4 separate regions of the Homo sapiens genome follow, and all the other regions are linked to region 1. The links are contacts of gene promoters, found by promoter capture Hi-C in blood cells and fetal thymus (Javierre and others, 2016). All regions are on one chromosome and are shown on one strand. Each heading gives the region's core, a stretch centred on a gene start or on the middle of the fragment in contact. The rest is flanking DNA. Distances are from core to core; before and after follow the strand shown. Region 1 holds the start of NANS (N-acetylneuraminate synthase). Region 2 overlaps TBC1D2 (TBC1 domain family member 2). Region 3 overlaps TBC1D2 (TBC1 domain family member 2). Region 4 holds the start of FOXE1 (forkhead box E1).

Region 1 (6,114 bases), core at 3,370-5,869:
CACGCACCACCATGCCCAGCTAATTTTTGTATTTTTAGTAGAGATGGGGTTTCACCATGTTGGCCAGGCTGGTCTCGAACTCCTGACCTCAGGTGATCCATCCCCCTCAGTCTCCCAAAGTGCCGGGATTACAGGTGTGAGCCATCAAGCCCGGCCAGAGACAATGTGTTTTTAAAACAATGGCATCCTTCCCACAGATTCTCACTGGGCTTTGGCGCCTGCTAGCCTCTCCAGTAGCTGGGAACAGAAAGGATGAGCAAGGGCTGGAGGTGGCCCTAAGCCGGAAGTCACCAGGCTGCCTGCTGACCCTTGGTCTGCTAAAGTGACAAATGACAGAGCAGCAGAGGACTCACCTCATCCATGCCAGAGGCAGTGAAGAAGATCCCAACCTCCTCGGCGTACCTCTGCAGCTCCCTGTACTGGTCATGGCTGAACTCCAGATGTCGTTTGTGCTCCCCGTACGTCTTCCCCCAGGAATGCTTCGAGGTGTATGGCCTCTCCAAGGCTTTCCGATTAAACTTGAATTCTAGCTCACTCTTCTGGAACTTAGCACAATCAGCCCCACACTCCTACAACACACATTAGGACATCTTTCAGTGACTGTCGTAGATTCTCAAAAAAAGGAAAAAATTCTGGAGCAACCACTATGACATCACCATCTTTATTTATTTATTTATTTAGAGACAGAGTTTCGCTCTTTCACCCAGGCTGGAGTGCAGAAGGTGTGATCTCGGCTCACTACAACCAATGCCTCCCGGGTTCAAGCCATTCTCCTGCCTCAGCCTCCCAAGTAGCTGGGATTACAGGCACCCACCACGACACCCGGCTAATTTTTGTTATTTTTAGTAAAGACAAGGTTTCGCCACATTGGCCAGGCTGGTCTTGAACTCCTGACCTCAGGTGATCCAAACGCCTTGGCCTCCCAAAGTGCTGGGATTACAGGCATGAGTCACTGCGCCCAGCCGACATCACCATCTTTAAAAACAACATAGACTGACAGAGACCTTAAGGACCTCCAAGGAAGAGGAACAGAAAAGGCAAGAAAGTCTGAAAGGAAGAAAAGGTTGTTTGGAGATGGGAGACCTCCCCCTATTTTTTTCTCTTAACATGCCAAAAGAAAAAAAAATGGGACTTTTTTCCTTTGTTTTGCATTGTAAATATTAAAAACATTGGATCAAAGAGTTAAGGAAGATTTTAAGTTATATAACTGAGCAAAGAATAGTCAACTCAGCACTGGACCAGAATTTAGTAAAGAAAAATTCTGGTTTAACTTTGACCCTAACTCTTAGATAAGTCACTTCCCAGCTCTGGACTCAGTTTCTCCATCGATATAAAAGCAGTTTGGGCTACCTCCAGGATGTGTAAACTGTCCTAATGAGGCCCTCTCAGGGACAGGAACATCCAGGGACAGTGCCCTATGCCTCTTTCTCTGATTTCAACAATAGCAACTCTGCTTTTAGCTGCTTTGCACTGGCGCTTTTCTCCATGACATTTTCTTTGAACAGGTTACATGTTAAAAAGCAGACAAACAAAACAAAAATGCCCCAGCCCCTAGATGACTTCTACTGAGCAGAGGCAATAATATAAAAGCCGGATTGTTTGACTATAAAAAAAAAAAAACAAAAAACACTCAAGAGGTCAGGCACAGTGGCCCATGCCTATAATCCAAACACTTTGAGAGGCCAAGGTGGGAGGATTGCTTGAACCAAGGAGTTCAAGACCAGCCTCGGCAACATAGTAAGACCCTGTCTCTACAAAAAATATAAAAATTAGCCAGGCATGGTGGCATACGCTTGTAGTCCCAGCTACTCAGGAGGCTGAGGGGGGAGGATCGCTTGATCCCCAGAGGTTGAGGTGGCAATGAGCTATGATGGTGCCACTGCACTCCAGCCTGAGCAACAGAGTGAGACCTTGACTCAAACAAAAACAATCTACTCAAGAAAAAGAGTAATTAAAACCCACTAAAGTCCCATCTCACGGCCATTTCTGTAGACACAGAGGTATTCATGCTATTAAAAACTTCTTGGCTGCCGGGCGCAGTGGCTCACACCTGTAATCCCAGCACTCTGGGAGGCCGAGGTGGGCAGATCACGAGGTCAGGAGATCGAGACCATCCTGGCTAACATGGTGAAACCCCGTCTCTACTAAAAATACAAAAAATTAGCTAGGTGTGGTGGTGGGCACCTGTAATCCCAGCTACTCGGGAGGCTGAGACAGGAGAACGGTGTGAACCCAGGAGGCGGAGCTTGCAGTAAGCCGAGATCACGCCACTGCACTCCAGCCTGGGTGACACAGCGAGACTCCGTCTTGAAAAAAAAAAATAAAAACTTCTTGGGTCCAGAAATGTCAGTGCTGAGATCACTACTCCTGCTCTTAGACAAATCATAAGATGGTAGAGTCAGGACTTGATGCTGGAAAGTTCAAAGAACATTAGAACTGAAAGTGACCTTGGGCAACAGAGCTCTCATTGTCTAGATGAAGATCCCAAGGCCCAGACTGACCTGACTAAAGTTGCACAGTGTCTCTAGCAGAGCTGGCCAGATCCCTTTCCTAAAGGCTGCAGCCACCTAGATTCCAGCTCAATGGAATTAGAGACAGGGTCTCGCTATGTGGCCCAGGCTGGTCTCGAATTCCTGAGCTCAAGCAATCTGCCTTCCTCAGCCTCCCAAAGTGATGGGATTACAGGAATCAGCCACTGCACCTGGTCAGTACAGCTTTGTTTCTATGGCTTCAGTATCTCTAGATATTTCTACAACTTCGGCATTCCAAGAGGAAAAACAGACTGCTCCTTCAAATTAAGAGTGGGAATTTCCCTCTAGAAAACAATGTTGCAGAAGAAAGGCTGGAGTCCTGTGGCTTAGGAGCAAAAACTGAAAAAACCCCTTACTGTATTTATTATACTAGCTATGTGACCTTGCCTAAGTCACTTATTTTCTCTTAGCCTTTAAAATGAAATCGGCAGCATCATGGCATTGGGTTGTTGTAAAAATTAAATGAGATGGTGCATGTACAGCATTTAGCTTAGTACCTGGTAGAGTAAGCACTCAAAAAATGTTAGCAATGTTATTTTTGTAAAGTATTTTTATGATTCAGTGATTAGGTTTCCATAAAACCAGTCCCGAAGGAACAGCAAGGGCCGAGGGTGGTGGCTCACACCTGTAATCCCAGCACTTTCGGAGGCCAAGGTGGGCAGATTGCTTGAGCTCAGGAGTTCGAGACCAGCCTGGGTAACATGGCCAAACCCCATCTCTACAAAAAAATTAGCCCAGCATGGTGGTTCACGCCTGTGGGTCCCAGCTACTCGGGAGGCTGAGGTGGGAGAATCACTTAAGCCTGGGAGGCAGAGGTTGCAGTGAGCCGGGATCATGCCACTGCACTCCAGCCTGGGTGATACAGAGACCCTGTCTCAAAAAAAAAAAAAAAAAAAACCAGGAAAAAAAAAAAAAAACAGTAAGAGAAAACCTCCAGCCTGGGTGACAGAGCAAGACCCTGTCTCTAACATAGATAAATAAATAAATAAACATTTAAAAAACCTATCACAAATGATACAAAATCAGTTGAGTAGCATTGATGAAGGGAAAGGAAAGATGGGGTGAGCTATCTCTAAACCAAAGAATCATAGTGCAGGCCAGGCCTTATGCTGGGGGCTGGGGTCGTAATGAAGAATATGGCAGTCCCAACAGAAGAGGGAGCACGCATTTACCGACTCATGTGTGCCAAGTGCTGGGCTCAGAGCTCTATCTGAGAATCTCATTTGATCCCCATAACAACTCCATGTGGAAAGAACTGTTGTTTTCAAGCCCCGTTTTCAAATGGGGAAAAGGGTTCACGGAGGCTAAGTAAGCAGCCCATGTTCACACAGCTAGTAGTGGTGGAACTGAGATTTGAACTCAAAGGCCCGGCTTTTAACCACTTCATATTTCATATACAGGGAATGGCGGGTGAGAGAGACCACAGCAACTTCCAGGAACTGTCATTCCTGAAAGTAACTCTGTGTCGCTGAAGAATGTCAGAGAAGAATTATGACGGGCTGGAAGGGGCCCAGTCATTAAAATCTTGAAGGCTATGTTAAAGGGTTTCGACTCTACCCGCGGGCAGGAGGGAGCCACAGAAGGTGCCAGGCAGGGGGGATGGTCTGATCAAGTCTGACTTTTAGAAAGATTATTCTGGCACCAGAACGGGGAGGAAACAGGTCGGGTTAGGAGGCAGCTGCTGTAATGCAGAAAGGTCACGAGGGTGGCGGACACGGTGAGGAAGAGGGATCCGAAGGATTCCGAAAACGGAACTGGCGGGCGGGAAGAGGCCGGACCAGGGTACCCAGCCGCGGAGGCCGTGTGGCCCTGGCTCCCCGCGGCCCCGCCCCGCCCCTCCCGGCGCCCGAATCCCGGGTCCCGGGAGCTGCCGCCTCACCTTGGCCATGCGGATCATGCGCTTGGCTACGTCCAGGTCGCCCTGGTGGTTCTGGCCGATCTCGGCAATGATGAAGCACGGGTGTTGCCCGCCCACCCAGCGCCCGGGACACAGCTCCAGCTCCAGCGGCATTGCAGCGGCTCGGGGTCCAAAGCCTCACTACCAGTCTGGGTCCGGCCGCCGCCGCCGCCGCCTCTACTCTGTTCTGTGAGCAACGCTGCGAGACCCACACGCCAGCCCCGCCACGTCAGCCCGCGGTCGCCGGGCAGCCAATCCCCTAGGCCCCGCCTCTCTCCCGACAGCCAATCGGGGCGGGGGGCGGGGGCGGGGCCTCCCGCGGGAAGGGCGGCGGGGCGGGTCGAGGAAGCTCCGCGGCCCTCTCCTGTGCGAGGCTTGAGGCTTGCTGTCCCAGAGCGTGGTCTCGGACCATCGCGGTATCCGTGCGTGCACCCAGGAGCAAGCATTCCCTGCAGGAGGCGGACGGCTGCCTGCGCAGGGCATAGTCTATGTCCTGCTCTCAGGAGCATGGGGAGAGCGCGCCCTATGGTGTAATGGAAAAAACAGGGTTGCTAGAGTTAGAATCACAGAGCTGGATCGAGTCCAGCCTATGCCAGTCACCAGCTCCTGCTCATATATACGTTACTCAGTCTTCCGGAGCGTTATTTTTGTTTCTCTCTGAAGCAAAAAAATAAAATAGAACTGTGAGATGACGTATAGAAACCCCTGATCACAATACTTGGCTTGTAGTAAGTTTTCAAGAAGTGGCGGAGGTTCCTATTATATGAGAGGCAACAGGTTCGAGAAGTTGCACTGGCTTGTCCAAAGCCATCCAGAAAGCCAAAGCAGAGATGGGACTAGTACCCGGACCTCCCAGCCCCAGGCTCTTAAAATACAATCACCTGGGCGGGCGCGGTGGCTCACACCTGTAATCCCAGCACTTTGGGAGGCCAAGGCAGGCAGATCACCTGAGGTCAGGAGTTCGAGACCAGCCTGACCAATATGGAGAAACCCCGTCTCTACTAAAAATACAAAAAAATTAGCCGGGCGTGGTGGTGCGTGCCTGTAATCCCAGCTACTCGAGAGGCTGAGGCAGGAGAATCGCTTGAACCCGGGAGGTGGAGGTTGCAGTGAGCCCAGATCACACCACTGCACTCCAGCCTGGTGACACTGCAAGACTCTGTCTCAAAAATAAATAAATTAATTAATTAATTTAAAAAATAAGATAAGTTATTTCCCAAAATAAACCTCCTTCTTTCCTGGGAACTAGACTGCCTTTGTAGGACTAACAAATTAGCCACAAGATTAGACACGTAGGAGTCATGCACCTGGAGGCTACAAGATTCTGACCCTCCCCAAATTGCTCCTGGGGATAACATCACTATTGTAAAACCTAAGACCAGTGCTTGAGATATTTTGCAGACCCTGCACTTGATGGATCAGCTGGCACCACCAGATTGATAAACTGGTTCATCTGATCTTGTGTCCCCCAACCAGGAACTGACTTGGCACAAGAAGACAGCCTTGACTTTCTATGATTTTATCTCCAACACAACCAATCAGCACTCCTGGCATACTGGCCTCTCTTAACCCACCACATTATCCTTAAAAACTCTGATCTCCAAGGTGGGGCATAGTGGCTCACACCTGTAATCCTAGCACTTTGGGAGGCTGAGGCGGGTGGATCACCTGAGGTCAGGAGTTCGA
Region 2 (5,489 bases), core at 1,107-3,606, 180 kb before region 1:
CCCAGAGTACCCAAAATAATCTTGAAGAATAAAAAAAGTTTGCCCCGTCTCTACTAAAAATACAAAAAAAATTAGCCGGGCATGGTGGTGCACGCCTGTAATCCCAGCTACTCAGGAGGCTGAGGCAGGAGAATCGCTTGAATCTGGGAGGTGGAGGTTGCAGTGAGCCGAGATCGTGCCACTGCACTCCAGCCTGGGCGACAGAGCAAGACTCTATCTCAAAAAAAAAAAGAAAAAAAAAGTTTGAAGACGCACTCTTCCCAATATCAACACTACTACAAAGCTATAGTAATCCAGACAGTGGTGCTGTTGCAAGGTGCACTAAGTGGGGTGCACTCTGATATTTTCTTTCTTTTTTTTCAGCAAAGCCTGACTTTCTTTTTTTTCTTTTTTTTTTTTTGAGACAGTCTTGCTCTGTCACCCAGACTAGAGTGCAGTGGCGCAATCTCCACTCACTGCAACCTCTGCCTTCCCAGTTCAAGTGACATTCAGCAACTCTCCTGCCTCAGCCTCCCGAGAAGCTGGGATTACAGGCATGAGCCACTACGCCTGGTTAACTTTGGTATTTTTAGTAAAGACGGAGTTTCACTATGTTGGCCAGGCTGGTCTCGAGCTCCTGGCCTCAAGCAATCCACTCGCCTTGACCTCCCAAGGTGCTGAGATTACAGGCGTGAGCCACTGCACCCGGCCAAAGTCTGACATTCTTAACAGATTTTATTATCTTAACTGGCATGCTTTAAATTCATAAAAGCTTTGGAGAAATAATCAATTCCCAACCCCATGAAAAGTATTTTGAATGAGGAAAAAAAAAAAAAATGGAAGTAATGATCTACACAGATACAAAGCATGCCTTAGTTCCTCCCATATCCCCAACTGCTATTTTGTGATAAAGAATTCTCAGAAAGCAGTGTTTTTAATACTCATCAAGTAGAATCTCACCAGTGTAAAGAACCAACAACATTGATCTGGTGCCTCCGCTCACTCTTTGCAGACCATTTTTGGATTCCTAAGGTGTAATTATACATTTCACATACATTTGTGAGATAAGATAAACATTATGTTTATATCCCACATGAGCCAGGCTTAAAGGTTTTCTAAAAACTGTGTGTGGCACTAGAAACTTCATGCTGTATCAAGTCAGTATCAGTATCAAGCTACTGGACTCTATAATGAAATGTTATAGATAAACATTTACTGAAAACCAATATAAAAATCTGGCCCAGACCAGGCACGGTGGCTCATGCCTGTAATCCCAGAACTTTGGGAAGCCAAGGCGGGTGGATCACCTGAAGTCAGGAGTTTGAGACCAGCCTGACCAAAACGGCAAAACCCTGTCTCTACTAAAAATACAAAATTAGCTGTGTGTGGTGGTGGGCACCTATAATCCCAGCTACTCGGCAGGCTGAGGCAGGAGAATCGCTTGAGCCTGGGAGGTGGAGGTTGCAGTGAGCCGAGATCGTGCCATTGCACTCCAGCCTGGGTGACAGAGTGAGACTCCATCTCAAACAACAACAACAAAAATCTGGCCCAGAAAGACCAGGATGGAAATATGCAATCTTCTTGAGTTAAGATGGTCAATTGTTTTTTTTTAATAAATAAAATTTTAAAAAGCTCTATACAGTTTAAGACAAGTATGTGTAAGATATGTGTATGTTTTGTATGTGCTGACTTGATCATGACAACTCCCTGATTTTTTTTTTTCCTCTTTTGAGATGGAGTCTCACTCTGTCACCCAGGCTGGAGTACAGGTGGCGCTTTCTCGGCTCACTGCAAGCTCCACCTCCCAGGTTCATGCCATTCTCCTGCCTCAGCCTCCCAAGTAGCCGGGATTACAGGTGCCCGCCACCACACATGGCTAATTTTTTTGTATTTTAGGTAGAGACAGGGTTTCACCGTGTTAGCCAGGATGGTCTCGAACTCCTGACCTCGTGATCTGCCCACCTCAGCCTCCCAAAGTGCTGGGATTACAGGCGTGAGCCACCGTGCCCAGCCGACAACTTGCTGATTCTTATGAAGGATTAGGGATACACATCTTCAGCAATGCACATGAGAAATAAACTCTGAAAAAGACAATTTATTGGGGTTAGGAAGGACCGTATTTTGGGAAGTGCTTTAGAGAAACAGACAATAATTCTAGGATTATAGCTGAGAAGGATTGGAAGACTTCAGGAGATGCTTCAGCTTCTAGATTTTGAATGTCGAATAAATCATTGAAGTGTGATACCTACATTATCCTTTTCTTTGCAAAAAATTGAATAGTAGCACATTTCTTTATCCTGAATAGCAGACATTCATTTTTTCAATTAGCTGTTTCTCATCCAAGGCATTAGAAAGATCTCTCTCTTGCTTCCAAGTACTAGCACTGGAATTCCTTGTAACTGTGGTTTATCTAGATTACGTAGCTCATTTCTCAAGGCCTCTATCTTCTCACGATCTGCACCATCTGTTATGTAAACAATAGCGTTGACTCCTAAGCAATATAGTTCCTACATGCTCCGAAATTGGGGTTGTCCTCCTATGTCCCAGATCTTTTTTTTTTTTGAAATGGAGTCTCGCTCTGTCGTCCAGGCTGGAGGTGCAGTGGCGTAATCTCAGCTCACTGCAACCTCCGCCTCCCGGGTTCAAGCGATTCTCTGCCTCAGCCTCCCGAGTAGCTGGGACTACAGGCATGCGCCACCACGCCCGGCTAATTTTTGTATTTTTAGTAGAGACGGGGTTTCACCATCCTGGCCAGGCTGGTCTTGAACTCCTGACCTCGTGAGCCACCCACCTCAGCCTCCCAAAGTGCTGGGATTACAGGCGTGAGCCACCGTGCCCAGCCATATCCCAGATCTTTACTGTGATGTTACCTTTAGTTACTTTCCTCGTGTCGAAGCTCACTGTGGGTATCATGTTTTCACTAAATTGACCTGACGCAGTGATATTCACAAAGCTGGTCTTGGCCTAAGTCCTGTAGCCCCACAAGCGTCAGTTCTAGCTCCTGCTTCCAAAAGAGCAAATGGAACTAGTACAGCAGGCAGGAGATGTGCGCCGCATGACGACCACTGGGAGACAGGATGGATGGGAGGGTCGGCAAACAGAGGCAAGGATGACTTCCACACGAGCCAGCCTTGGTCTGGACCACCCAACAGCTCCTCAGGATTCCGATGCAACACAGGTGGATGCAGGCAGGTGGCAGCAGCCCTGATAGTTTCTATTTCATTTTTTAAATGCTGGTCATGACACTAAACTGATTTTACAATCTACCAATGAGTGGGAACTTTCAGTTCGAAATACACTGACCTAGTGAACTCCTTTCATCATTTTCCCTCCCTGTCATTAATCTTATCTCTTTGCAAGGGAAAATAAACTCCTTGAACTGTTTTTACATCCAGCTCATTATGAACTTCTCTGTGGTCTGTGATCTTAGGTCAGCCTTTGGTACTATCTAGTTCCCTTCTATAAACCAAACATGTATTGAGCCCGGTCTCTGGCATGTACAACCCAGTGTTGGGCACCAGCAAACATGCAGGTAGGTTAGTACCCGGTTCTTAAAGAAATGACATCATGAGGCTTCAGCCTAGACAAGTACTTGGCCAAAGGGTGACCCCGCTGCGAAGTACACTAAGCCCCTTGGAGGCCATGAGATGGTCAGTGAAGGCTGCACAGAGGACAGATCTGAGCAGGGAAAGAGAGCAAGCAGGGAAAGATGCCAGGAGATGTTTGCAACTTATCTCAGCAGAAGTCGGGAGCCACTGATGGTTTTTGAGCCAGATAGTTATGAAACCAGATGAAGGTTTCGGGAAAGTTGGTTCAGCAAGTCCATTCAGCATTCACTCAACACACCCATATTAAGCACCTTCTATGTTTTGGGCACCGTTTAGGCATTGTAGGTGCATCAGTTAACAAAACGGACAATACCTCCGCCTCATGGCATTTATATTCCAGCTGCAGGGGTGGGGGTTAAGGAAGTCAAGCTTGTATTACTTATAAGCCACATAGTGTGTGGAAGATGAGAATGCGAAAGAGATAGGTAAAGGAGATTGGGAGTGCCATGCATGGGGAGGCATCATGTAGGGTGCCTGGAGTCTGGGAGACCAGTCAGGATGACAGGGTGTGGGGATGAGACCTGAGCTCCAGCAGTGGTGGCGGGAAGGACAGAAGGGCAGAAAGGCAGGGTTCAGCCTCATGCTCCTCTGTTCTTGTCTCCTTTCAGGAACACAATGCACAACATCCGTGGCAACAAGCAGGCCCAGGGAACAGGCCATGAACCTCCAGGGGAAGATTCTCCACAGAGTGGGGAGCCTCAGAGGGAGGAGCAGCCCTTGGCCTCTGACGCCAGCACCCCAGGTGAGCCTCTGTCCAGGGCTGAGCTGCCTTCAGGGACCAGCTCCTCACGGCTGGCACAAGTGCCTTCTTTCCTTCCAGCGAACCAGCATTTGTGCTTTTGTGTGTGTCTTAGTTGGCTTGGGCTACTTACTGAAACACCATAGACTGCGTGGCTTAAATAACAGATACTTATTTCTCACAGTTGTGTGGAAGCTGGGAGGTCCAAGATCAAGGTGCCGGCAGATTCAATGTGTGGTGAGGGCTCCCTTCCTGGCTTGCAGATAGATGGCCACCTTCTCACTGTGTGTTCACGTGGCCGAAAGAGCTCTGGTCTCTGCTGCTTATTCTAAGGGTACTGATCTTATCAGGGGCTCCACCCTCATGACATTAAATCTGATCACCTCCCAAGGGCCCCACCTGTTAATACCACCACGCTACTAAAAATACAAAAGTTAGCTGGGCATGGTGGCCAGTGCCTACAATTCCAGCTACTCAGGAGGCTGAGGCAGGAGAACCACTTGAACCTGGGAGGCAGAGGTTGTAGTGAGTCGAGATTGCACCACAGCACTCCAGCCTGGGTGACAGAGTGAGACTCCGTCTCAAACAAAACCAAAAACAAATGTACACATGTGATAAAATGGCATAGACCTATACACACATATTGTACCAACACCAGTTTCCTAGAGTTGATAGTGTACTATAGCTATGTAAGATGTCACCATCAGGGGAAGCTTGGTGAAGAGTACTTGGGACATGTCTGCACTATCTTTGCAACTTCCTGTGAGTCTATAATTTTTTCAGAGTAAAAAATTAAGAAGAGGCTGGGCATGGTGGCTCACGCTTGTAATCCCAGCACTTTGGGAGGCCAAGGCTGGAGGATTGCTTGAGCCCAGGAGTTCAAGACAAGCCTGGGCAACACAGGGAGACCCTGTCTTTACAAAAAAATAAAAAAATTAGCTGATCATGGTGCAAGCCTGTAGTCCCAGCTACTTGGGATGCTCAGCTGGGAGGATCACTTGAGCCAGGGAGGTCGAGGCTGCAGTGAGCCGTGATCATGCATGGGTGACAGAGTGAGACACTGTCAAAAAAAAAAACAGAAAAAGAGAAAGAAGAAAAGAAAAAGCACCCTTTGGAGCAGTCAGTGCCTGGCAGAGCCCTAGAGAGCACAACAAGCAGTCCAA
Region 3 (5,557 bases), core at 2,299-4,798, 160 kb before region 1:
CTGGAAGCAGGGTATCTTATGTGACAAAAGCCTTCTTTCCAAAGCCTTAGAAATAACAGTGTGTAGCCAAGCGTGGTGGCTCACAATCCAGTGCTTTGAGAGGCCACGGTTGGAGGATTGCATGAGGCCAGGAGTTTGAGACCAGCCTAGGCAACATAATGAGACCTTTTTAAAAAATTAAAAATTAATTAGCTGGGTGTAGTGGCACACACTTGTAGTCCCAACTACTCAGGGGCCTGAGACAGGAGGATCACTTGAGCCCAGGAGGTCAAGAGTGCAGTGAGCTATGATCATGCCATTGCATTCCAGCCTGGGTGACAAAGTGAGACCCTTTCTCTAAAAATAAAAAAAGAAAGAAAAATAAATAAATATCCATGAGCACATCTAGGCCTGGGAGGAGGAAGGGGTGATATCAAGGAGGGAGACCCAGTGGTGTGGAGCAGTGGCCAGCGCCAGAGCTGGGTCTGCTTTCTCTACGCAGTGTCTGCTGAGCACCTGCCATGGGCTGAACACACCTGGGTTTGGATCCTGGCTCTCTTTCGTGACAAGGGGAACTTACTTTCTCTGTGTGTGTTTCCTCATCTGTTAAATGGGAATTAGGGCACTTTAATAGTTATCCCACAGCCTTGTGGATATGAGGGAGATGGGTCAGGTCATGGTAGGTCCTTTCCTCCCTTGCGGGGGGGCTTGTTGTATTTTCCCGGGCATTGGATTCCGAACTCTGTGAGCCGACTGAGGGGGTGGGTGCAGGGTGGGGAATAGTAGCTCTCGAGCTGTCATGCAAACTCAGTGAGGGAGACGATGCTCACGCTCACGTTGCACTTGCCACATGCCAGGCACCGTTCTGAGCCTTTTGCACATATTAACTCACTGAATCCTCTCCCAGCCACATGAGGTAGTACTGTTATTATCCTCATTTTCCAGATGAGAGGATGAGGTTAAGTAACTTGTCCAGGGGCTCAGTGGTCAAGACAGAATTTCCACCCAGACAGCGTGCCCGCAGCATTCATGCCACTGACCACCAGGCGGTGCCGGTACATGGCCAACTCCAGCGTCTTTGATGTGTTGTTATACTGTCTGATGGGTAGGAGAGGTCACATAAGCCTGCATGCGTGTAGCCAGGAGACACCAAAGGACAACGCTTGGAGGGTAGGGACTAGAGTGTGGGCATCCAGGTGGATTCCAGCTGGTGGGGAGCTCAGATGGTGCCCGGCAGGAAGTTTGGTGATTAGGGCTTTAGAATGAGACAGTCCTGGCCAGGCACAGTGGCTCATGCCTGTAATCCTAACACTTTAGGAGGCCGAGGTGGAAGGATTGCTTGAGGCCAGGAGTTTGAAAACAGCCTGGGAAACATAGTGAGACCTCGTCTCTACAAAATCAAAAAATTAGCTAGGCATGGTGGTGCCTGCCTATAGTCCCAGCTACTTGACAGGCTGAGGTGGGAGGATTGCTTGAGTCCAGGAGGTCGAGGCTGCCATGAGCTATGATCACGCCACTGTACTCCAGCTTGGGCGACAGAGCAAGACAAACAAACAAAAAGAATCAGACAGACCTGGGTTTGGTCACATCTGCCTTATACTGGCTGTGCCTTAGGCAAGTTGCCTACCCTTTCAGAGCCTCTGAGGCCTCATCTGTGTCATAGGAATAATAAAAGAACATCCCTTCTAGGGTTGCTAGGAGGATGAAGTGAGAGAATATATGCTGCGTGGTGTTGGTGATGGGGGTGATGCCGGAAGCCTGCACAGCCTCTGTATTCATAAGTTTCTATATCTCCAGACAGTAAAGTGTTAGACTCCAGAGAGAGTGGGGAGTGGTCCAGGAAAGGCCTGATGCTCATGGGAGACTGGTCCCTGTGCCACAAACAAGATTTTCACTTCTTGCCACATAAGGATAGGATATGGGGACTGTGGAGAAGAAGCAGGCAGAAACTTGCCAGCAGAGCGGCTGGCGCACACAGCAGCATTTTTGAGAGGCAGTGAAGCTGGTTTTTTATCTAGGTCAGGGACAGGATTGGATAGGGGGAGGAGGGTGGCGCCAGGGGTTGGAACTGCCTGGGTCCAGCCAGAAGGCAGAGAGCAAGCTGAGTGGATGCACAGCCTTTCAGCCTTGGCACAGCGAGGGAGATGAAAGCAGGGGTGGCCTGGGTTGGGGCACCACAGAGAGCCCCCGTGGAGTGGTGAGGGGTGATGTGATAAAGTCAACAGGGGGCATTCGTTCCCTCCCCTGGGAGCAGAGGCCCTTCTAGTGTGTCAGGCTCTGGGCGGAGGGCAGCAGCCCCTGGGCAGGCATCGGAGCTTCCAGCCTGGGGAGACCTTGGAGATCATCTTGGCCAGAGTGAAGACCCACCCAGGGAGGGCCAGGACCACCTGTGGGCTGTGCACATGTGACCCTGACGAGGATGTGCCCCAAACTACATGTGATGTTCTTCATTTCCAAATCAATCTGGCCACGTCGGAGTCATCCTTGCTGCAGCATCGCTTGCACATGTGATGTTCTTCATTTCCAAATCAACCTGGCCACGTCGGAGTCATCCTTGCTGCAGCATCGCTTGCACATGTGATGTTCTTCATTTCCAAATCAACCTGGCCACGTCGGAGTCATCCTTGCTGCAGCATCGCTTGCACATGTGATGTTCTTCATTTCCAAATCAACCTGGCCACGTCGGAGTCATCCTTGCTGCAGCATCGCTTGCACATGTGATGTTCTTCATTTCCAAATCAACCTGGCCACGTCGGAGTCATCCTTGCTGCAGCATCGCTTGCACATGTGATGTTCTTCATTTCCAAATCAATCTGGCCACGTCGGAGTCATCCTTGCTGCAGCATCGCTTGCACATGTGATGTTCTTCATTTCCAAATCAACCTGGCCATGTCGGAGTCATCCTTGCTGCAGCATCGCTTGCACTCACCTCCAGCCCATACATCAATGGGAGAGAAAGGGCCTGAGTTTCAGCCAGTAAATACCCTGGAATTGTGAGGTATAGCTCTAAGAATGTGTTACGTGACTGAACGGCTTCTGTAATGTCCATCCCAGCAGAATTGAGAGCCACTGCTATAGCTGATCCTTCTCTGAGGCTCAGGTCCTTGCTTGAACCTTCCCAGTGCTTGTCTGGCTTCTCCTTGTATGCCCCAGCAGCAGGGAGCTCATTCCCTCCACTGGATGGGCAACTTGCAAAAGGAAAACTCAGAGATGTTTATCACAGCATTATTCATAATCAAAAACCAACTGCAAACACCCCAGGTTCAAATTAAAAAATGACAGGAAAAGGATTATGAGTAAGTTCTGGTAAATTCACCCAATAGAATCATCACCAGAGGTTAAAAATGATCACTGGGAAGCTTATGTAGCAACATTGAAAGGTTTTACAAAGTGACACTGAGTTAATTTTACAGTATGATTGTAAATATATGATAAAATATGTTGATTTTAAAAACAAACACTACTTGAGCACTTGCTATGTTTTGGTCCCTGTACTTAGTGTTGTCACACATTATCTCACTTAGTTTCCCAACTGCCCAGTAGGTTAGTTGGTATTTGCCCCTTTTACAGATGAGGAAACAGAGGGTCAGAGTGGTTCAGTGGCCTGCCTGAGGCCTTCCAGCCAGAACATCAGCCAGGACTTAAATTCAGACCTACTGGTCCCTTTACCACATCATGCTGACATCAAGAATAGAGAAGGGTGCTATGAGTATTTTATTTTTCTTTCAGACTTCCTCTTCTGTTGCCATTATTGGAAATTTCTAAGGAAAAGAAGCTTTGGGGGCTCATTTGAGGGTGTGACTCCCCAGGACCAGGGAGATGTTTATGTCCAACTGATAACATATTTTACTCTCTTCTCCAGGATGACATGGAAGCTTACCGGACCCAGAACTGCTTCCTCAACTCCGAGATCCACCAGGTCACAAAGATCTGGAGAAAGGTGGCTGAGAAGGAGAAGGCCCTTCTGACGAAGGTGCGGGGTGGGGCCCTATTCCAGCCGTCTCCATCCCTGGCCCCTCTGCTGGTCCCCATGCTGCCCACTCCGTCTCACTCTCCTCATTTCCTGTCTGCCCCTCTCCCTCTGAACTGACCCCTTGTGAGCAGGGCCCATATCAGGTTCTTCTCCAGACCCCTGTGGTCGGGGGATTGAGTCATTTGTTCCGCAGCGTTCACTGAGTAGCTGTGGGGTAGGGACATCAAGACCAATAAGGCTGGTTCCTGCCTACAAGGAGGGTATAGACTAGTGAGGGAGTGTAACCCAATCAAGATGTACTTGGGGCCAGGCGTGGTGGCTCACACCTGTAATCCCAGCACTTTAGGAGGCCGAGGCGGGTGGATCACAAGGTCAGGAGATTGAGACCATCCTGGCCAACACGGTGAAACCCCATCTCTACTAAATATACAAAAAAAAATTAGCCGGGCATGGTGGCGGGCGCCTGCAGTCCCGGCCACCCGGGAGGCTGAGGCAGGAGAATGGCGTGAACCTGGGAGGCGGAGCTTGCAGTGAGCCGAGATTGCGCCACTGCACTCCAGCCTGGGCAACAGAGCAAGACTCTGTCTCAAAAAAAAAAAAAGATGCACTTGGACTTGTGGGATTCTTGGGGGCCCAAAGGGAGGAAGGAAAGTCAGGGAGGGCTTCCTGGAGGAGGTACCTTCTGAATTGAGTCCTAAGGATGAGTTAATGTTATCCAGGCAAGCAGTGGAGAAGGACCTTCCAGGAAAAGAGACAGCATAGTAAAGACGTGTGGTCTGAGAGGTGGGGGGCAGGGCTAGGGAGAGTGAGACATGAGGCTGGAGTTGAGGAGTTTGGAATTTACTCCAAGGAAACTGGGGAGCTGAAGGATTCTGAGTGGAGAAGTCCTCAATCAGACTTCTGTTCCTGTTCCAAGAAGACTGCTGTGACTGCTCAGGAGGGTGGGCTTGAGAAGGTGGGCCTGGAAGTAGGGAGATTGTTTGGAATCAGCAGCAGAAATCCCTGAGAAGGGGCCAGGTGCGGTGGCACAGGCCTGTAATCCCAGCGCTTTGGGAGGCCGAGGCAGGTGGATCCCTTGGGGCTAGAGTTCAAGACCAGCCTGGGCAACATGGTGAAGCCCCGCCTCTACCAAAAATACAAAAATTAGCTGGGCGTGGTGGTGCACACCTGTAATCCCAGCTACTCAGGAGGCTGAGGCACGAGAATCATTTGAACCCCGGAGGTAGAGGTTGCAGTGAGCCAAGATCATGCCACTGCACTCCAGCTTGGATGACAGAGCGAGACTCTCTCAGGAAAAAAAAAAAAAAGGAATCCCTGAAACAGGTGTTAACGATGGGACTCAGGAAGCAGCCCAGGCAACAGAGGTGGGCACCAGGTGGGATAGGTAGAAGAACAGGCACAGAGGATGGCTTGGAGCTGGTGCCCGGCAAGTGTTTGGAGATGGCGACCGGGCAAGGGTGCAACAGAATTGTTCCCCTGCTGCCACCCCAGGATGAGATAGGATTCGGGGTGGCCCAGAGATCATGGCAGTGCTATGAGTGGATTTTCACTGTCCCCATCTCACAAAAATGGAAAACAAGGAACTTGCCTGACTTGCCTAGCACC
Region 4 (5,873 bases), core at 3,253-5,752, 200 kb after region 1:
TGATCCCAACCCTCGCGCGTCTCCGTGTCCCTTGGGGCACCTGAAGCACACAACCAGGTCCCTCCCCGCAGCGTCCTCTCTCTCCTGATGCTGACCCTCGCCTTTGGCACAATCTTACCTGTCCCGCAAGTTGACAAGTAGAATGGGGGACGAAAATGTCCGCTCTTTCCCACCCTGTCTTTCTCCTTCCCGGGGCTTTATCATGACACTCCAGGAGGCTTTGTTACAAGGCAGCGCTTATTTAAAGCCTTTCAGCCCTGCTATGCTCTGCGCTTTGCAGTTTACAAAGCGCTTTTCACCTCTCCTCTCGTTTAACTTCAGGAAAATTATCTGAGGTAGCAGTCACAAATTCCCATTTCACAAATGACGACCCGAGAGGAGAAGGGACTGGCTTAAGATTAGTGGTGCTGTCAAAGCACTGGACTTGCTCATTAGGAAACAGAGAAAGCCTCAACTCTGGCACTAAGGGCAAAAACCAGCCTTCTCCAGCCCCAGTCCCACGCCTGGGCTCTTCTGCAGCCCAGAACAAAACTCCTGGGTGGAGAACTCTTACTTTCCCATTCTTCTCAACCAGGCAAGTCATCCTGACCTCTGCACCTGGGACAGCCAGCTTGTCTAGCTGAATGAAGGAGAACCCTTGAACTCCATACCTGCAAAGATTCTTAGGGAGAGGAGGGCGGCCCAATACCTGCACTCTTCAAGGTCACAAGGCTGGGTCTGGAATTTGGGCCGACGGGTGGCAGGGTCAGCGCTCAAGTGCTTCCAGGTACCACCACCAAAGCCAGGAAGGGCCAGCACCTAGACCTGCACTGCACAACACAGTGTTGCTACTGAACACCTAGCAGGTGACTAGTCCACATTTAGAGAAGCTGTAAGTGTAAAACACACTCCAAATTGTAAACCCTTCATGTAAAAGGAGAGCAAAACATCTCAATTTTTACATTGATTATATGTTGAAATCATAATATTTTTGATATGTTGGGTTAAGTATATCATTCAAATTAACCTCACCTGTTTCTTTTTACTTTATTAATGTGGCTACTAGAATATTTAAAATTACATATGTGGCTTGCACCATATTTCTAATGGAGAGCACTGGTTTATACAAATCCCCATTTGGACTGAACCAAGTTCACATGTCTTCGTGAACAGGATAGTGCAGTCCCAAAAATAAAAAATAAAAATTACCAATGGTTTTCATACAATCTTCTTTTTCACACCCCAGCCCTTCCCTGTTAAGTTTATACAGAAAGAGGCTGAGTTTCTCTTGCCATAACTCACTTGCTCAAAGATTTTTATTAAAACAGTCCATCTGAACACTCCAGTTTATCTGAAAGCTGTGAATGGAGCCTCTGAAATATTTAATGCTGAAAGTTTTTGCTCCAGAATCGAAACTTAAAGATTTCTCAAGGGAAAGGGGGAGAGTTATTGGACTTTCTCTAATTTTAGTGAGCCTGCTACTTAAGCAAGATACAAAATGAAGTTAAAATTCCAGTTTCTTTCTAAAGCTCACTTTACTGACTGCCCTAACTTAATTTTTCTCTTTCCTTTTTGCATGGGGGAGGCTGCTGAGGTGTAGCAGGGGGTGCTGGGGATGGAAGAGCCCTCCCCAGCTACTGAAAGGCGTCACCAACGGGCTCCTTGAATCCTCTCATCTCCTTAAACTTTAGTTCACCCTTTGGGTCCAGGGCTGCGTGATGACAAGAAACAGTGGACAAATGAACGAATGTACTTCTCTCTGCCTTATAATGGAAAAGCAGATTTATGACTGGGCAGTAACAGCCATGAAATTACCAGCACGTCCTGCTCAAAAGTTCAATAAGTTATGATATAATTGCTGCCTGGAGCCAATCCTGGGACTTTAGGTTAGACGCTTGGCCATGAACTCTTTTCCGTTCCCTAGAACAGCGGCTAGGCTTTGGGTGGCTACTCAGAGGCCCTGGGTGGCCCACCATTGCTGCCAAATACGCAGGGCAGCATCCAAGATGATGGGGCCCTGAATGATAACCCGGGGGCGGTGGATAGAGTCCTGCAGCCCTCTAGTGTAACAGATGGGGGAGACTGAAGGTTCAGGTGATGGGACTGGAGTGCTGACGCACAGTTCAACTCGGAGCTAGGTCTCAAGTTCTCAGAGACAGGGAAAACCAGCCCAGGTCAACCAGAGCAGAGATTTCTCCAATTTAAAAAAGAAGAAAAGCCTATTTCTTTTGCAAATTTGTCCTCCTCACTTTAAGAAGAAAGGCGCTGCCGCAGCCTTTTATTGTAGTAACGCAGTTAAAGGCACTAGAGGACGAACCGCGTAAAAAGGCCCGAGTTCCGGCAGCACATGGAAGGCTGAAACTGATTCCCCACAATTTGGATCCTGGTCTCTGGTGTTGACACTACGCTGCCCTCTGGTTACCGCCAAGGACCCTCCCCGATAGAATACCAGAAAGCATCCCGTTTGAGGGCTTCGCTCCATCGAGGGTCCCTGTGCCAGTCCAAGGGCTCTGGCTGCCTCGCCCCACCTCCTCCCGTTTACAGAGTACACCGGGTGCCTACGCTGTGCGCGGGGAGACCGAGCCTCTGTGGCCTGCTCGGTCTTTTCCACGTGGGTCCCAGTTGAGTCCTCTCTCCATTCCTGTTCGTTCTCAGATTGCGGGGAACGTGTGAACAGCCGATGTGTCTATGAGTTTTCGTCCCTACGCTGGCTCACATGGCGGACACGAACCGATCTATCCCACCGGGATAAGCGGCAGCATGGCGAGCATGGTAGGCGCCTGCACTGGCCCCTCCGAGCTGCCCGCCAGGGTTGTAGCAGGCTCCCAGCGCTCCGAACTGGCCGGGCGACGTGCGCCCGTAGAAGTCCACCGTGGTCTCCACGCCGCCACTGCTGCCGCCCGCTGGGGGCGAAGCGGGTCCCGCCAGGCGGCCAGCAGCGGCAAAGATCGCACTGCCGGCGCCCTGCGGGTACGCGCCGTCGGGGCCCGCGTAGGCAGCCGCATAGGCGGAGGGGTTGGCCGGCCGGGCCCCGGTGCAGCCTGCGGGCTGGTAGCCGGTGGTGGTAGCGGGGGCGCCGGCGGAGGCAAAGGCGCAAGAGCCGCCGGGCCCCGACGGTGCGGGCCCCAGCTCTGGGCTGAGCGGCCGCTCAGGAACCAGGCCGAAGACGCGGCAAGGGCCGGGCGACGCCGCGGGGTAGTAGACTGGAGGCGGCGCGGCCAGCGACGGCGGCGCGTAGCCTGCATAGACGGCGCCCGGGTAGGGGGGGCGCGCGGCGGGCACCGCGCCTGGGAAGATGGCGGCGGCGGCGGCGGCGGCGGCGGCGGCGGCTGCGGCAGCCGCCGCGTCGTGCATGTAAGCCGGGTAGGTGGAGAGGTCCGAGCGCTTGAAGCGCTTGCGGCGGCGCAGGAAGCTGCCGCTCTCGAACATGTCCTCCGCGTTGGGGTCAAGCGCCCAGTAGTTGCCCTTACCCGGGCGGCCGGCCTCGCGCGGGATCTTGAGGAAGCAGTCGTTGAGTGTGAGGTTGTGGCGGATGCTGTTCTGCCACTTTTTGGGGTTGTCGCGGTAGAAGGGGAAGCGCTCGGTGATGAACTTGTAGATGCCGCCCAGCGTGAGGCGGCGCTCGGGCGCGTGCGCGATGGCCATGGCGATGAGCGCGATGTAGCTGTAGGGCGGCTTCCCGCGCTGCAGGGGGCGCTTGCGGCGCCGCCCGCCCGCCCCGCGGCCCGTGGCCTCCCCTGGGACCCCGGCCCCTGCTGCCGTCTCGCCGCGCTCTTCCTTCACGGTAGCCAGCACCTCCGGCTGCGGCGGCGGCGGCCCGCTCTCGGCAGTCATGGCGCGGGCGTCCCGCACCCCCGGGCTCTGGATCCCCGCGGCTGTCGGGGGGCGGGGGCGGGCCTGGCGTCCCCGGAACGGACGCTCGGCCCTTCTGCGGAGAGCTCAGGGGATCGTCGCGGGCTGGCCCCGAGAGCCCAGCGGCCCAGGCTGGCACGCGCTGGAGGCTCAGCGTCCGTGGTCTGGGGCTGGCGCGGTGCAGACAGAGGCTCGGGAGTGACCCGCTAGCCGACGGCTCAGCCCGCGTGGTGCTTCTCGAGGCGGGCAGCGGCGGTGGCCTCGTGACCGGGACTGGACTCTGGTCTCCGGCTGAAGGGTCCCTTGCGCGCTGGTGCCGGGCGGTCGAGGGGTCCGGAAGTGATCCCTGGGTTGGGGTGGCTGCAGCTGGTCTGTGGTGCCCGCTAGTTTAGGATTACTGCCTAGGTTGTGCGCGCAGAAGAGGCTTCGGGCTCGAAGGCCAGAGCGAGGGCAGTTAGTACTGGCGCTGGGCGATCTGGCGGGGGCCGCCCATGCCCTGCCCCCGAGGCCAAGGTGGCCGTAAGCGCCACGGGCAGAGAGGCGAGGCGGGGGCAGCGAGGTCGGGGCGCGGGCCCAGGCGGGGCGACCTGAGGCTGGTCCTCTCCACGGCGTGGGTCTCCAGCCCTGCGGACCGCTGGCGAGGCGCTCCCCTGCACACACCGGACCGGCTCCTCCCTCCGCCGGCTTCCCCTCCTTAAAGGGGCCACGAAGCGTGGGGCGGCACCGGTTCCCTGCCCGCCCCCCGACTGCCCGCCCCCCGGGGCCCGGGCGCACCTCCCCAGGTAGGAGCAGCTGTGGCGGCGCGGTAGGAGCCCCACAGCGTCAGGGCGGGGAGGGCGCTTGGAGATCCCCCGGGTCGGCCCCCTCCGCACCCCGATCGACTGAGGCCCGGAGAGTTCAGGAACCGGCTCGGGAGACCTCAGCGCCCGAACTCGGAGTTTTCGGACTTTTCAGGCCTCTGCCAAGGGCTTGGACTCGCAGGTGAAAGGACGGGCTCATCTCACTTTTTTGTCCTGAGAGGGTGAGAATTGGCCGAGAGGGCGCTTGGTTTTTGTGGGAATGGGGAGGGAGAAGTTCCAGGAGACTGGCTCCCCGGGCCTTTCAGGATGGTTTCCAAACCCCAATCGTGGCTGCCACAGCCACTCGGCACTCCAGTCCCCCCATCTTTCGAATGAGTATTCCTAGGCCCGAAAGGGAAGGTGACTTGCCATGGCCCCACTGCGGCTTCTCCGCTTAGCGGAGTCTCCAACCTGCGTCTCCTTTAGGACTGCGCTTCCCAACTGTGTGGTAGAGGTAGCCGCTTTCCCTTTTTGGGCCCCAGGTCCCTCGACTGTACCGGGGTCTGGATCTCTCAAGAGTCCTTGCGTGGTAGATATTTAGGGATAGGCCAATCACCACCCCCAATCATCCGTCTTTGAGAGGCCCAGGATCTGTCTCTATTTGATGGATAGTGGTGCACGGATTAAAGACGACGCAGGATAGGTAACCTCCTCCTCCAATCCCCCGGGACCAGGGTAGCTCTGAAGACCCCCAGAGGCAGCCAAGCAGCCCCTTCCCGCAGCGGGGAGTGAGGGCTGCGGGTAATGGGGGAGTGGGAAGAGAGCGGTGGCCGGGTGGGCGCGTCTCCGGGGGAAGGGGCGGGCAGTCGGGACACGTTTGCTTCATGGGTGTCCAATTTCTGAGTTCCTTTCCTGCTGTCCCTGAGCCGGAACTTGGTCCTAACCTGAGATCCTCGCGGCGCGGCCCCTCTGGCCCGGGTTCGTTCCCTGGCCATTCACTGGGAGATCCAGGGCCTGTCCTTGTCCCCTCGCAGGGCCTCAGTGTTCTACTCTGTTAAATAGCAGCTGGAGGGCGTGTGCTGATCTCCGAGGCCCCTGCTACGTATAGGATTCCGGGCCTTGGCGCGGGTTCCAGTGGCTCCAGCCCGGACGCAGCTTTCCGGGGTGGGGGGGGGGGGCGGGCCGGGGCTGTGGGTGCAGAGCCGCGCGGATGGTGGTGCCAGGTGAGTGTGGGAGATCCCAAGACGAGAGTTCTGGCCAGTA

Evidence for each region. The method cuts DNA at HindIII sites, captures the fragments that hold promoters and counts their contacts. A CHiCAGO score of 5 or more calls a contact.
Region 2: a contact is called between a fragment that was not itself captured here and the fragment with the promoter of NANS in region 1, in 9 of 17 cell types (total CD4 T cells, naive CD8 T cells, non-activated CD4 T cells and 6 more). The highest score is 12.6, in total CD4 T cells.
Region 3: a fragment that was not itself captured here is called in contact with the fragment with the promoter of NANS in region 1 in 9 of 17 cell types (total CD4 T cells, non-activated CD4 T cells, activated CD4 T cells and 6 more); the score reaches 14.2 in total CD4 T cells.
Region 4: a contact is called between the fragment with the promoter of FOXE1 here and the fragment with the promoter of NANS in region 1, in 3 of 17 cell types (monocytes, neutrophils and naive CD4 T cells). The highest score is 6.3, in monocytes.

What each region holds. Positions count from the first base shown.
Region 1 is chr9:98,055,237-98,061,350 of GRCh38, reverse strand. NANS (N-acetylneuraminate synthase) reads right to left here and starts at 4,619. Exons shown (of 6, transcript NM_018946.4): 1 at 4,411-4,619; 2 at 354-569. The coding sequence starts at 4,542. It also overlaps a transcript of TRIM14 not described here. RefSeq lists enhancers at 3,901-4,020, 5,061-5,110 and silencers at 4,271-4,440, 4,521-4,870. The HindIII fragment of the contact is 20,554 bases long and covers 1-6,114 here.
Region 2 is chr9:98,232,256-98,237,744 of GRCh38, reverse strand. TBC1D2 (TBC1 domain family member 2) reads left to right here. Exons shown (of 13, transcript NM_001267571.2): 4 at 4,196-4,329. It also overlaps the pseudogene LOC100131625. Among named protein-coding and RNA genes, the nearest start is that of MIR6854, 5.8 kb to the right of the region's middle. The HindIII fragment of the contact is 3,205 bases long and covers 754-3,958 here.
Region 3 is chr9:98,211,503-98,217,059 of GRCh38, reverse strand. TBC1D2 (TBC1 domain family member 2) reads left to right here. Exons shown (of 13, transcript NM_001267571.2): 7 at 3,842-3,952. Among named protein-coding and RNA genes, the nearest start is that of MIR6854, 15 kb to the left of the region's middle. The HindIII fragment of the contact is 416 bases long and covers 3,341-3,756 here.
Region 4 is chr9:97,851,855-97,857,727 of GRCh38, reverse strand. FOXE1 (forkhead box E1) reads right to left here and starts at 4,502. Exons shown (of 1, transcript NM_004473.4): 1 at 1,011-4,502. The coding sequence starts at 3,813. The coding sequence ends at 2,692. PTCSC2 (papillary thyroid carcinoma susceptibility candidate 2) reads left to right here and starts at 4,648. Exons shown (of 11, transcript NR_147055.1): 1 at 4,648-4,812. RefSeq lists an enhancer at 5,534-5,873. The HindIII fragment of the contact is 6,931 bases long and covers 1-5,873 here.